2 separate regions of the Homo sapiens genome follow, and region 1 is linked to region 2. Evidence: promoter capture Hi-C in human tissues and cell types (Jung and others, 2019). All regions are on one chromosome and are shown on one strand. Each heading gives the region's core, a stretch centred on a gene start or on the middle of the fragment in contact. The rest is flanking DNA. Distances are from core to core; before and after follow the strand shown.

Evidence for each region. Contacts are between HindIII fragments. The study calls those that stand out against the background at their distance.
Region 1: a contact is called between the fragment with the promoter of CCDC87 here and a fragment that was not itself captured in region 2, in 1 of the 25 tissues and cell types used here (dorsolateral prefrontal cortex).

What each region holds. Positions count from the first base shown.
Region 1 is chr11:66,588,420-66,594,981 of GRCh38, forward strand. It overlaps CCDC87 (coiled-coil domain containing 87), which reads right to left and starts at 4,644. Exons shown (of 1, transcript NM_018219.3): 1 at 1,757-4,644. The coding sequence starts at 4,596. The coding sequence ends at 2,047. CCS (copper chaperone for superoxide dismutase) reads left to right here and starts at 4,766. Exons shown (of 8, transcript NM_005125.2): 1 at 4,766-4,881; 2 at 5,223-5,295. The coding sequence starts at 4,843. RefSeq lists enhancers at 3,430-4,019, 4,020-4,608, 4,171-4,230, 4,401-4,510, 4,541-4,630. The HindIII fragment of the contact is 7,748 bases long and covers 2,829-6,562 here.
Region 2 is chr11:66,945,966-66,953,052 of GRCh38, forward strand. It overlaps PC (pyruvate carboxylase), which reads right to left. Exons shown (of 23, transcript NM_001040716.2): 3 at 6,465-6,503. Among named protein-coding and RNA genes, the nearest start is that of PC, 8.9 kb to the right of the region's middle. The HindIII fragment of the contact is 7,176 bases long and covers 1-6,514 here.

The sequences.
Region 1 (6,562 bases), core at 3,394-5,893, 360 kb before region 2:
GGGAAGTGAGGAGCCCCTCTGCCCGGCCAGCCGCCCCGTCCGGGAGGGAGGTGGGGGGTCAGCCCCCCGCCCAGCCAGCCGCGCCATCCGGGAGGTGAGGGGCGCCTCTGCCCGGCCGCCCCTACTGGGAAGTGAGGAGCCCCTCTGCCCGGCCACCACCCCGTCTGGGAGGTGTACCCAACAGCTCATTGAGAACGGGCCAGGATGACAATGGCAGCTTTGTGGAATAGAAAGGCGGGAAAGGTGGGGAAAAGATTGAGAAATCGGATGGTTGCCGTGTCTGTGTAGAAAGAAGTAGACATGGGAGACTTTTCATTTTGTTCTGCACTAAGAAAAATTCTTCTGCCTTGGGATCCTGTTGATCTGTGACCTTACCCCCAACCCTGTGCTCTCTGAAACATGTGCTGTGTCCACTCAGGGTTAAATGGATTAAGGGCGGTGCAAGATGTGCTTTGTTAAACAGATGCTTGAAGGCAGCATGCTCGTTAAGAGTCATCACCAATCCCTAATCTCAAGTAATCAGGGACACAAACACTGCGGAAGGCCGCAGGGTCCTCTGCCTAGGAAAACCAGAGACCTTTGTTCACTTGTTTATCTGCTGACCTTCCCTCCACTGTTGTCCCATGACCCTGCCAAATCCCCCTCTGTGAGAAACACCCAAGAATTATCAATAAAAAAATAAATTAAAAAACAAAGTGAAACCCCGTCTCTACTAAAAATAAAAAAAAATTAGCTGACCGTGATGGTGGGCACCTGTAGTCCCAGCTATTCAGGAGGCTGAGGCAGGAGAATGGCATGAACCCAGGAGGCGGAACTTGCAGTGAGCCGAGATTGCGCCACTGTACTCCAGCCTGGGCGACAGAGCGAGACTCCCTCTCAAAAGAAAAAATATATATATATACACACATATATATATACACACACACATATATATGTGTGTGTATGTGTGTGTGTATATATATATATTTGTTTTTTTTTTAAGAAACTCAAAAAATTAGCCAGGTGCAGTGGTGAGCAGCTGTAGTCCCAGCTACTTAGGAGGCTGAGGCAGGAGGATTGCTTGAGCCCAAGAGTTCAAGCTGCAGTGAGCTATGATCAGGCCACTGCACTCCAGCTTGGGCAACAGAGCAAGACCCCATCTCTAAAATTGAAAAAAAAAAAAAAATCCAGGTGCTGTAGCTCATACCTGTAATCCCAGCACTTTTGGAGGTTGAGGCAGGTGGATCGCCTGAGCTCAGGAGTTTGAGACCAGCCTGGCCAACGTGGTGAAACCCTATCTCTACTAAAAATACAAAAATGAGCCATGCGTGGTGGCAGGCGCCTGTAATCCCAGCTACTCAGGAGGCCGAGGCAGGAGAATCGCTTGAACCAGGGAGGCAGAGGTTGCAGTGAGCTGAGATTGTACCACTGCATTCTAGCCTGGGCAACAGAGTGAGACTCTGTCTCAAAAAATAAATAAATACATAAATAAAAATTAAATTAAATTTAAAAATTGTAACACTTATCCCCACAGCACGAAACAGACATTGGAGGTGGGTATGGGAAGGCTTACTTTTCAGTACACATCCTGGTATACTTTGTACCATGTGCACGTAACTGGTAAAAATTTAATTAATTTTCTTCTTCCTAATAGTGTTTGAGAACTAAAAGAGGTGACAATTTAATGTAGTGTGATAGGAATGCTAAAGTGAGTTGTTCCAAAGATCACCTTTGCCTCTGACCCTTCCCACTACAATTAACTCCAAGGTCTCAGTTCTTTTGATATAGGAGATTTGGCTTGTATTGTGCAAGGCTTGACATAATGGGACTACTAGGCTTGGGGATTCTTTCATGAGAATTTCACTAAGAAAACAATAGTTTTAGTCTCAATCCCTTCATAGTTGGAAGCATAATGTTCCTGAACCCTCCACTCCCAGATATAGACAAATATTTCTTCTTCCAAAGCAGTAAAGAGGTCTAGATGAGCTGCTGGCCATTTAGGGGTGAGGGAGGCATTTGAGGGCACTGGGCCTGGTCAAGGAGTAATAGGGGTATTCCCAGGAGCTACTAAAGGCTGGCTGCTGAGCTCCTGAACAGGGTTGACTGGTGGGGATCCTTCAGGGCCGAGACCAGGTGGCGAACCCGCCGCTGCTGTTGCAGCCAATAGAGCATCTCCACTTTGTCACTCTTCATCTTGTCCAGGTAGGGCCGCCCCTTGAAGATCACTGGCTCGCCAAAGATTAACTCTATCTCCTCCAGGAGGGAAACCAAAGAAGACTCCATTAAGTTGAGCTTCCTGTGGAGATGGCTTCGGACCTGATTCTCCTCCAGGAAGTGACTGGAGCTCAAGTTGGTCTTTTTGAAGAAGCGGTTGGGATTGGAAGCTTGTCCCTCAAACCACTCTAGTCTCGCCAGCAATGCCTCCCGCAGCTGAATGGGCTTCAGGGCCCGCTCCCAGGCATTCACCAATGAAGGCAGCTGCCTCAGGCGGGCTTTGGAGCTATATTTAATGGTCATGTCCACCTGGTCCTTGTCAGGGACCTCAAGCACAGACCACAGTTGTTCCAGATGCTTCTGCAGGCTCAGAATTTTGTGGGGTTCTCCCAGGTGGGGTGTCTTCCCAGCTCCTAGCCTGTGCTCTAGCACAGTGTTCCAATCCCACTCTCCTGGCACAAAGTCTGGTTCTTCATCTTCTAGCAATGGGGGAGGGTGCTGAATCTCTAGGGACTCTCTGGCAGGGGCCACAATCTCCACAGGAACCTCTTCTTCATGCATTTGAAAGATGACATGAAGGAAATCTGTTTCATGGTTGGTGAGGTACTTGAAGTAGTCATCCACAGACAAGGTGGTTTTCCATGAGTTCATCAAGGAGGCCTTGTTTGACCACTTCTCCCAGCTTTTGGTAGCTTGGAGTGATGGGAGGGAGGGCATCTTCTTAGTATTGGACTGTAAAGTGTTTGCTCTCTGGGAGTAAAGTCCAACCAGCTCAGGGTTGATGATTTGAGGCTGTTTTTCTTGACGTAGAAAGGCTGAGGACAGGAAGGTCGACCAGTCTTTATCTGCTGCAGGCTCAACTAGGGGCCCTTGATCAAAATGTAAGTGGTCAGAAGAGACATGGCTCATCAACTCCTTGTAGACCTCCCTGGTAGTACTGCCAACAAAGTTATCAATATCCATTTTTTCAATGGCTTTGGGATCCAGTTCACCAGCCAGATGGTTATACAGGGCTCCGGCCCCCTCAATGTGGAAAGAGTCTAAGAAGTTTCTATCAGAGACCCGTACGGCAGCCGCCTGGACCACGACCTCATTTCTAAGCTTCAAAGTAATGGTCACTGGCTGTGGGTGAAGTGGAAAGGATTTGGGGGGCTGGGGGTCCCACTGCCCAGAGGCTTCTTCCTCCTGGAGGTTCCTCAACATCTTCTCCAGCTCCTCCAGGCGATGCCCTGCAGCTGGGTGACGGGTCACAACCCCCAGGAGAGGAGGCAGGCCTGAGTCCAGTGGTGGGTAGCGAGTCCCCTCCAACTTCATCTTCTTTATCAACTGCTTCAGATCCTCAGCCACGATGAGCCCAGTCAGCTCTGGTTTGCTCTCTGTAGCCAAGACCAGCGGGGTTAAGGGGCGAGATGGGAGTGGAGGAAGGCCCAACTCATCTGCCAGCCTCCAGCCCTCACGCAGGGAGGGCATGGATTGGCCTCTCCGGAGCTCAGGGCAGAAAGGCGAGGGGGAAGCCCTGCTGGTGGGGGCCACAGGATAGCTGGGCAGCGACACCATCTGTGAGGAACTGATGTCGATTTCTCTCTTCTTTCCTATGGAGGGCAGCCAGTGGAAAGGCTTTTTCCTCTTCAACCGAGGGATGGACTTCAATTCCTTCACTGGATCCATCCTTCCTGGCTCATTGAGAAACTCTGGTGGACGGCTGAGTTGGATGAGGTAGTTCAGGTTGAGGTTAGAGCACTGCACTTGGGCGAAGCCAGTGCTGTGAGGCCAGGGGATAGGGCACAGCTTGAACGTCCCAGCGGGGCAGACAGGGTGCAGCTTGTCCACATCCCCAGAGGCCTGCTCTGCCCTCAGCAGGGCCTGGAAGTCGGCAAGCAGGCCACGGTAGACGTTGGGACTAGTAAGGAAGAGTGTGCAGTCCCTGGCGAGGCTGGCGGCCAACCGGGTGAGGGTGGCTGATTCAGTGAAGACCCCCCTGGGAGTCGACATGGTCACCAGCAGGTGCAGGTAGCGCAAGAAGAGCTGCTCGCTGCTCAGCAGCACGTAGGCCTCGAGCCGCTTCCGCAGCTTCTGGTTGTTTTTGTGGCTCAGACTAAGTTCGGCGGGCGGCTCCCGCCAGCTGCACTTCAGCTCGTCCAGGATGACCTTGATGAGACGTAGTCGGGCCTCAGGAGGCACTCCCGCTGCTATCCCGCTGCCGGCCAGCAGCTTGGCCACCTGGCTGCACAGCGACGCCACCGTCAGCTTCGCCAGAGGGAAGGACTGCAGAATCCGGCCCTCCTGCGGGGGGCGCTTCTGAGGCTCTGGGGACGTCGTCCTAGTGGGGAAGAGCGACAGCGGACGCAGCAGCCGGTGGTAAAACCGCTGGAGCTCAGGCTCGGGCTTCGGGGGCTCCATCATAGAGCCGGCGGCCGCCACCGTCCAGGAACAGAAAGCCGAGGGGTTACTAAGGCAACCAGGAGCCCGACGGCCCGAGTGCGCCTGCGCGGCCGCCACCCGGTGGCTGACGAAGCAGGGCCTTGCGTGCGCACGCACTAGGAGGAGGAGTTAAGGGTGGCTTTAGAGGCTCAGTCCCCGCGACGCCGCGCTGGTTGGTGCTCCTGCGCCGGAGGAGTTCTGCGTCTCGGGGTGGTGACTGGGTCCAGAATGGCTTCGGATTCGGGGAACCAGGGGACCCTCTGCACGGTGAGGGTCGAGGCTTCGTGTGGAGCCTCGCCGGGCAGAGAGCCTCGGCCCCTGGGATGATCGTTACCTTGGGAAGAGGAGAAGGAGTGGGCACTTGGGTTGGGGCCTGGGGCCATGGGATGAAACTAGGGTGCGAGGGTAGCAGGGGCCCTGCGTGAGTGTTGGGGGGTGACTCCCATGGTCCTGGAATGGTCATGAGAGATCATGAAGAAGGTGCTTGAAGAGGGGTTAAGTGGGGCTTGTTCCCAGACCCTTGCGGTGGTCATAGGGTAGGTGGTGAAACAAAGTCATACCAAGGCACTTCCCCAGCGATCATCGGTTGGTCCCTGCCGCCCTTGCAGTTGGAGTTCGCGGTGCAGATGACCTGTCAGAGCTGTGTGGACGCGGTGCGCAAATCCCTGCAAGGGGTGGCAGGTAAGAACAGGGTAAACTTTTCTGCAGACAGTCCAGAAGCCTCTGGGAGGGACCAGGCGAATCTATTAGGCGAACCCTACTCCCATTTTACAGATGCAGAAAGTGAACCCCAGAGAGTGAAAGGCATGTTCTCAGAGTTACACACAGACCTGGAGGCAGAGCCTAGAGTACAGCTGTCCAGCTTGCCCTGACAGATTCTAACTGCCTGTCTTGTTGTCCTGAACCTCAGGTGCCCCAGAGACTGAGGAGCTAGGCTGAGGGAGTTCCTGGGAAAACAGGCAGTTTTTGCTTGGGAAACAACATAATCTTGACAAAGCAAACAGCAGCTCAGGCCCTATACCATCCTGGGTAGCTTTCTATACCACTGGGTGTGGTGGCTCATGCCTGTAATCCCAGCACTTTGGGAGGCCGAGGTGGGTGGATCACCAGGTCAGGAGATCGAGACCATCCTGGCTAACACAGTTAAATCCTGTCTCTACTAAAAAATACAAAAAATTAGCCGGGCGTGGTGGTGGGCGCCTGTAGTCCCAGCTACTTGGGAGGCAGAGGCAGGAGAATGGCGTGAACCCGGGAGGCGGAGCTTGCAGTTAGCCGAGATCGCGCCACTGCACTCTAGCCTGGGCAACAGAGTGAGACTCCGTCTCAAAAAAATAATAATAATAAATAAAAGGCCAGCTGGTCTGGAGGTGACCTGGCACAATGAGAAAGATCTGGAAAGGTAGAGCCACCAGCATGGCTCTGGGAACTGGCTTCCTTTGATTCTGTTAAGTGTTTATCCAGGCCAGGCTCAGTGGCTCACGCCTGTAATCCCAGCACTTTGGGACACCAAAGTAGGTAGATTGCTCAAGTCCATGAGTTTGAGAGCAGCCTGAGCAACATGGCGAAAACCCTCCTCTATAAAATATACAAAAATTAGCTGGGCGTCATGGTGCACTCCTGTAGTCCCAGCTACTGGGGAGGCCAAAGCAGGAGGATTGCTTGAGTCCAGGAGGTGGAGGCTGCAGTGAGTTGGATCGCTCCACTGCACTCCAGGCTGGGTGACAGAGTGAGACCCTCTCTCAAAAAAAAAAAAAAAAAAAACAAGTTCACCCAGTCATTCGGCAGGTATGGACCAGACACTGGGGCTTTTTAGGGAGAAGAGTTCACATGGGTATCAGGCACATCCCCTGCACTCAGGTGGAAATGAGCATGCAAGCGTTGCCTGGATGGCATTCGCAGAATGCTTCGTGGAAAGAGCAATGGTGAGAGGGAATGAGATAAGATGGCT
Region 2 (7,087 bases), core at 1,677-4,176:
GTCCCAGCTACTCGGGAGGCTGAGGCAGGAGAATGGCGTGAACCCGGGAAGCGAAGCTTGCAGTGAGCCAAGATTGCGCCACTGCAGTCCGCAGTCCGGCCTGGGCGACAGAGCGAGACTCCGTCTCAAAAAAAAAAAAAAAAAAAAAAGAAATCTGTGTGTTGTCTGTTACTTTATGTACTCTAAGAGAATATGGTCTGTTTAGAATAACAAATCAGTCTTGAGATTCCAATTAAAACATGTAACTGAGGCCAGGCGTGGTGACTCACATCTGTAACCACATGATTTTGGGAGGCTGAGGCAGGTGGATCGCATGATAGCAGTTTGAGACCAGCCCTGGCAACACAGTGAAATCCCACCTCTACAAAGAAAATTTTTTAAAAGGCCAGGTGCAGTGGCTCATGCCTGTAATCCCAGCACTTTGGGAGACCAAGGCGGGCAGATCACAAGGTCGGGAGTTCGAGATCAGCCTGGCCAATATGGTGAAACCCCGTCTCTACTAAAAATACAAAAATTAGCTGGGCCACGCCTGTAATCCCAGCTACTCGGGAGGCTGAGGCAGAAGAATTGCTTGAACCCAGCAGGCGGAGGTTGCAAGTAGGCCAAGATCATGAAACCGCATTCCAGCCTGGGCAACAGAGTGAGACTCCATCTCAAAAAAAAAATTTTTTTTAAATCAGCCAGGCATGACGTGCATGCCATGGTCCCAGCTACTCAAGAGGCTGAGATGGGAGGATCGCTTGAGCATGGGAGGTCGAGGCTGCAGTGAGCCACGATCGCATCAGTGCAAGCCAGCCTGGGGCACAGAGCAAGACCCTGTCTCAAAACAAAAAACATGTAACTGAGTAGTTAGTTTAGACGTGTGATTTTACATAGAAATTTTACTAAGTTTAAAATCAGTACTGGCAGATGACAAACACATGACAAGATGCTCAACATCATTATCATTAGGAAAATTCAAATTGAAACCATGAGATACCACCATATACCTTTTTAAATGGCTAAAATTTAAAAGACTAACCATAGCCAGTGTTGGGGAGGATGAAGAGAAACTGGAACTCTCATACACAGCTGGTAGGAATGTAAAATACTACAACCACGTCAGAAAATTTGGCAGTTCAAGTTAAACATACATACAGCTACCACAGGATCCAGCCACTCCACTCCTAGGCATTTACCCAAGAGAAAAGGAAATATATGTTCACACAAAGACTTATACACAAATGTTCACAGTAGCTTTATTTGTAGATGCCAAAAAGTAGAAGCACCTGAGATGACCAACAAAGGTGACTGGATAAACTGTAATACCCATATAATGAAATCAGCAAAAAAAAAAAGCTGGGTGCGGTGGCTCATGCCTGTAATTCCAGCACTTTGGGAGGCCGAGGCGGGAGGATCACAAGGTCAGGAGATCAAGACCATTCTGGCTAACACAGTGAAACCCCGTCTCTACTAAAAATACAAAAACAAAATTAGCTGGGTGTGGTGGTGGGTGCCTGTAGTCCCAGCTACTCGGGAGGTTGAGGCGGAGCTTGCAGTGAGCCGAGATCGTGCCACTGCACTCCAGCCTGTGCGACAGAGCAAGACTCAGTCTCAAAAAAAAAAAAAGAACTGACCAGGAACAGTGGCTCATGCCTGTAACCCCAGCACTTTGGGAGGCCAAGGTGGAAAGTGGGAAGGACTGCTTGAGTTCAGGAGTTCAAGACAAGCCTAAGGGCCAGGTGCGGTAGCTCACGCAGGTAATCCCAACACTTTTCGAGGCTGAGGTGGGGTGGATCATTTGAGGTCAGGAGTCGAGACCAGCCTGGCCAACATGGTGAAACCCCCTCTCTACTAAAAATACAAAAATTAGCTGGGCGTGGTGGTGGGCGCCTCTAGTCCCAGCTACTTGGGAGGCTAAGGCAGAAGAATCGCTTGAACCCGGGAGGCAGAGGTTGCAGTGAGCCGAGATCATGCCACTGCACTCCAGCCTGGGCGACAGAGTGAGATTCCGTCTCAAAAAAAAAAAAAAAGCCTAAGCAACATACCGAGATCTCATCTCTACTAAAGATAGATAGATAGATAGATAGATAGATAGATAGATAGATAGATAGATAGATATGCCAGGCGTAGTGGCACACACCTGTAGTTCCAGCTACTCAGTGAGATGGGAGATCACTTGAGCCCAGAAGATCAAGGCTGCAGTGAGCTATGATCACGCCGCTATATTCCAGCTTGGGTGACAGAGCAAGACTCTGTCTTAAAAAAAAAAAAAAGAAGGAAATGAACTATCAATACAAGCAACAACATGGACATATCTCAACATAATTATGCTGAGTAAAAGAAGGCAGAGAAAAAAGAATATATACTGTATGAGTCAATTTATGTGAAATTCCAGAAAATGGAAACTAACCTATAGTAACAGAAAGCAGTTCCATGGTTTCCTGAAGAGTGAGGAGGCAGAGGGAGGAATTCCAAAGGTGATGAATGTGTTCACTCTCTGGACTGCAGTGATGGTTTCACAAGGGTACACATATGTTAAAACTTACTAAACTGTATACTTTAAATATGTGCAACTTATTATATCTCAGTAATACTCCAATAAAGCTATTGTAAAAACTAAAATGTATCACGCCTGTAATCCCAGCACTTTGGGAGGCCAAGGCGGGCTGATTGCTTGAGCTCAGGAGTTCGAGATGAGCCTGGGCAATGTGGTGAAACCCCGTCTCCACAAAAAGTACAAAAATTAGCCGGGTGTGGTGGCTTGAACCTGTAGTCCCAGCTACTCAGGAGTCTGAAAAGGGAAGATCACCTGAGCCTAGGAGGTAGAGGTTGCAGTGAGCTGAGACTGTGCCACTGTACTCCAGCCTGAGTGACAGAATCAGACCGTCTCAAAATAAACAAAAATAAACAAACAAAACATAAAACGGTATAGGAAAGTTTAAGAAAAGTGTAATATTCAGCTTCATTTATTAGATTTACAAGAGTCATTTAGGTATTAGAGGGTTTTTTTAATCAGAAAAATGGAAGAATTATTATTATTATTTATTATTATTATTATTTTTTTGAGATGGAGTCTTGCTGTGTCGCCAGGCTGGAGTGCAGTGGCATAATCTCAGCTCACTGCAACCTCCGCCTCCCGGGTTCAAGCGATTCTCCTGCCTCAGCCTCCCAAGTAGCTGGGATTACAGGCGCGTGACCACCACACCCAGCTAATTTTTGTATTTTTAGTAGCGACAGGGTTTCACCATGTTGGCCAGGATGGTCTCAATCTCTTGACCTCGTGATCTGCCCGCCTTGGCCTCCCAAAGTGCTAGGATTACAGGCGTGAGCCACCCACCATGCCCGGCCAGAAGAATTATTAAAATAGTTAACTGAAGTTGAATATGATTTATAAGTTCAATTGAAACATTTCAGAAGTTTCATCAAATTTGCAAATGGGACCAAGCATTAATCAAAAAGCCCCCTAAGGCCGGGGCGGCGGCTCACGCCTGTAATCCCAGCACTTTGGGAGGCCGAGGCGGGCAGATCACTTGAGTCAGGAGTTCGAGACCAGCCTGACCAACATGAAGAAACCCCGCCTCTACTAAAAATACAAATTAGCCAGCATGGTGGCGGGCGCCTGTAATCCCAGCTACTCAGGAGGCTGAGGCAGAAGAATCGCTTGAACCAGGAGGCGGAGGTTGCAGTGAGCCGAGATCGCGACAGAGCGAGACTCCATCGCAAAAAAAATAAATAAATAAAAGCCCCCTGAAAGTGACTGTTAAAATGTCCTAGAATCGTAAATAGATCAGAAAGATTTATAGGCTACACTTATAAGCTAAACTTAAAAGACTGGCCCTTAAAATAACTAGGTTTCTGAATTCATAATTTTAACAAATTGAAAATCAATTGTTTTCGACCAAAGTAATTTCTGAATAATCTTTGCATTACATAAAAATCCAGGGGTAGGAGTGGGTGTGGCATCCAAACCTCCCTCAGACATGCCACGCACCAGTCACCCGAAACTCACCAAGTCGCTTAGTCTCTAGTCTCTCTGAACCTCTGGTTCCTCACACATTGCAAGAGACAAATATTTTCCAGAATAAATAATATACTTATTATTAATGATTTAATATTAATACATTTCACATTGATACACAGCATGTACATGAGAAGAGGCTCCAAAGCAGCATAAAGTGATGTGCAAACGTAATAAATGGGCAGCATGTGTCACTTCATAGTAACTGCAGCACTCAGTGACAGACAAGAGAAAGGTGACACACATCCCCAGAGACTAAGTATGACTCAGCATGGCCAGGTCGTGGAATTTTCCCAAAGCCTCGTTGTGATGTCATGGTGGATGTCATCAGGAAAGGAGCTGCCACAGAAGCAGTCAGGCCCTTCCACACACAGGCAGTGGAAATGTACTCCCAGCTGTCCCGTGCCCTCCCGGCCCCACCTCTTTCTCTGGCCTCGAGGCATATCAGGACAAGGAGGTAACACAAGAGTAGGAAACCCGAGGTAGTGCTGGGAGTACCTGGGGTAACGCCTTCAGGCATAACACTTAACAACACAACAAAGGGCCACATCCATGTCCCCCCAGGAGAAAGCTGAAGAGGAGGGGAGGGTGACAAGCTTAGACTACAGAGCCTTAGTCCCTAGGCAAAGCTCAAGTCAGCAGTGCCTTGGGAACTGAGGAGCCAAACAAGCTTTGACAAATTACATAACCTGGAAGAAGAGGTCCCTTCTTGGTGACTGATTTTCCCTCTCTATTGATGGATCTAAGGGAAGACATCAATAAAATATGGCAATTTTAAAAGAAGAATAAACAATGGGATCAGCATCTTGGATTCTGCTAAGCAGCCTTCTCTAGGCTTCAGTTTCTTCAGTTCCATAAGACAAGTGGTTTGGGGGGAACCTTCCCCAACATGCCCACCTCTCATTGTAGGGATGCAAGTAAGAGAAATAACATCCAACTCTAGCAGCCAAGAATAAGAGGACAGAGCAAGCAGAGAGAGAACAAGGGGGTGAAACTCGTGGAGGGTGGAGTTCTTCCACGTTACGGCCATTCCCACCATGAGCCCATTGCCCTTACTCAATGGTAGCACGCAGACGGCACCTGCTGGCCCAAGACCTAGCTCCAAGGGAGGACTGCGGGAAATCTCACACAGGAAACCAGCTCCTGCGTCATGAAGGGTCGTCAGAGGAAAACCCCCACATAATGGGTGGAAAACCGAGAAAAACTCCTATACCAAGGAATCCCCACTCAGCACTGGATATGAGCTCTGGAGAAAGTTGTCCCTGAGCCACAAAGTCCCCAAGGCCACAGCGGGCCTGAAGGGAAGAGCATTATTGTTGTCACAAATGCTGGGAGAGCACCTGGTTCCCTGGCTCGGCTGCTCCTGCAGACCAGCAGGGGGAGAGGGGACTGGACTAGCAGGGGACCGGCGGGAGGGCTGTGGAATTTAGGCTGAGGGGAGGCCACTGAATCTCCCAGGCACCTGCCACCATGGAAATCCATGTTGGGGGAACTGTAAAAGCAGTAGAGGCCGGACGCGCTGGCTCACACCTGTAATCCCAGCATCTGGGGAGGCCGAAGAGGGCGGATCACCTGAGGTCAGGAGTTCGAGACCAGCCTGACCAACATGGTAAAATCCCATCTCTACTAAAAATACAAAAATTAGGCCGGGCACAGTGGTTCATGCCTGTAATCCCAGCACTTTGAGGGGCTGAGGTGGGTGGATCACAAGATCAAGAGATTGAGACCATCCTGGCCAACATGGTAAAACCCCGTCTCTACTAAAAATACAAAAATTAGCTGGGCATGGCAGCACACACCTGTAGTCCCAGCTACTCGGGAGGCTGAGGCAGGAGAATTGCTTGAACCCAGGAGGCAGAGGTTGCAGTAAGCCGAGCTTGCGCCACTGCACTCCAGCCTGGCAACAGAGCAAGACTCCGTCTCAAAAAAAAAAAAGAAAAAAAAAAACTTAGCCAGGTGTGGTGGCACATGCCTGTAAAATGTGCAGGGGAAGAAGGGCAGGTCCCTTTTTCCCCGTTGTTACCGTGACTGGCAAAGGTTGAGCGTCACCCTCTGGAAACCCGTGTCAAGTGACTTTACAACCAGCTGGCAGAACCACCTCACACCACAGCTGCCTGCTCTCCATGCTGACTCAAGGGGTCTTCTCAGAGACGGCCCAGCCCCAGGGATTCTTCCTGCCCAGCTTCCCAAGCTGACCATACCCTTCCAGAACCAGGGCCTTCTGCTGAGGCTGGCCAGCTGCCAAATGGGGCCAGCAGGGAGCCAGATGTCACTTTCCTGTAAAAATCAGGAGCAACTGGAAACAGACAAGACTGCTTAAACGGATATTATCCACAAATCAGAGCGCAGCCTTTTTTTATTGATTGAGCTTAAGACCTGACATGCCAAACTGCTGGCATCCACAGCTGCTCCTGGTGAAGACCCCCATGCATCCCGCCAGCCTGGATTCAGGCACAGGACTTACCCTTAGTGTTTGGTCAGCTCTCCAGAAGGCAGACACTATCTAAAGCAAAAGAAAAAACAGCATTACCCTCATTGCTCCAGGAACTTCCCAGAGAAAACAGGAGTGGCAAGAACACCGATTTTAGAACCCAGAGAACTTTTTCAGTCTTGTTACCCGGGCTGGAGTGCAATGGCGCAATCCCGGCTCACTGCAACCTCTGCTTCCCGGATTCAAGCGATTCTCCTGCCTCAGCCTCCTGAGGTAGTTGGGATTACAGGCATGTGCCACCACGCCCAGCTAATTTGGTATTTTTAGTAGAGATGGGGGTTTCTCCATGTTGGTCAGGCTGGTCTCGAACTCCCGACCTCAGGTGATCCACCCACCTCGGCCTCCCAAAGTGCTGGGATTACAGGTGTGAGCCACCGCACCCGGCCAAGAACTGTTTCTTTGCTTCCACTGAGGGCACCAGGAGGGTACAGAGCTGGAAGCGCCAGCTGTGCTGTCCCACTGCCTGGACTGCACCTCTTGTTACTCTGACAGCCGCTCTGTAATCACTCAAAGTCTGTTTCCTCATCTGTAAAATGGGAATAATAACAATGCCCATCTCACAGCGTACTAGGGAATACCCAATGAGGCAGCACACG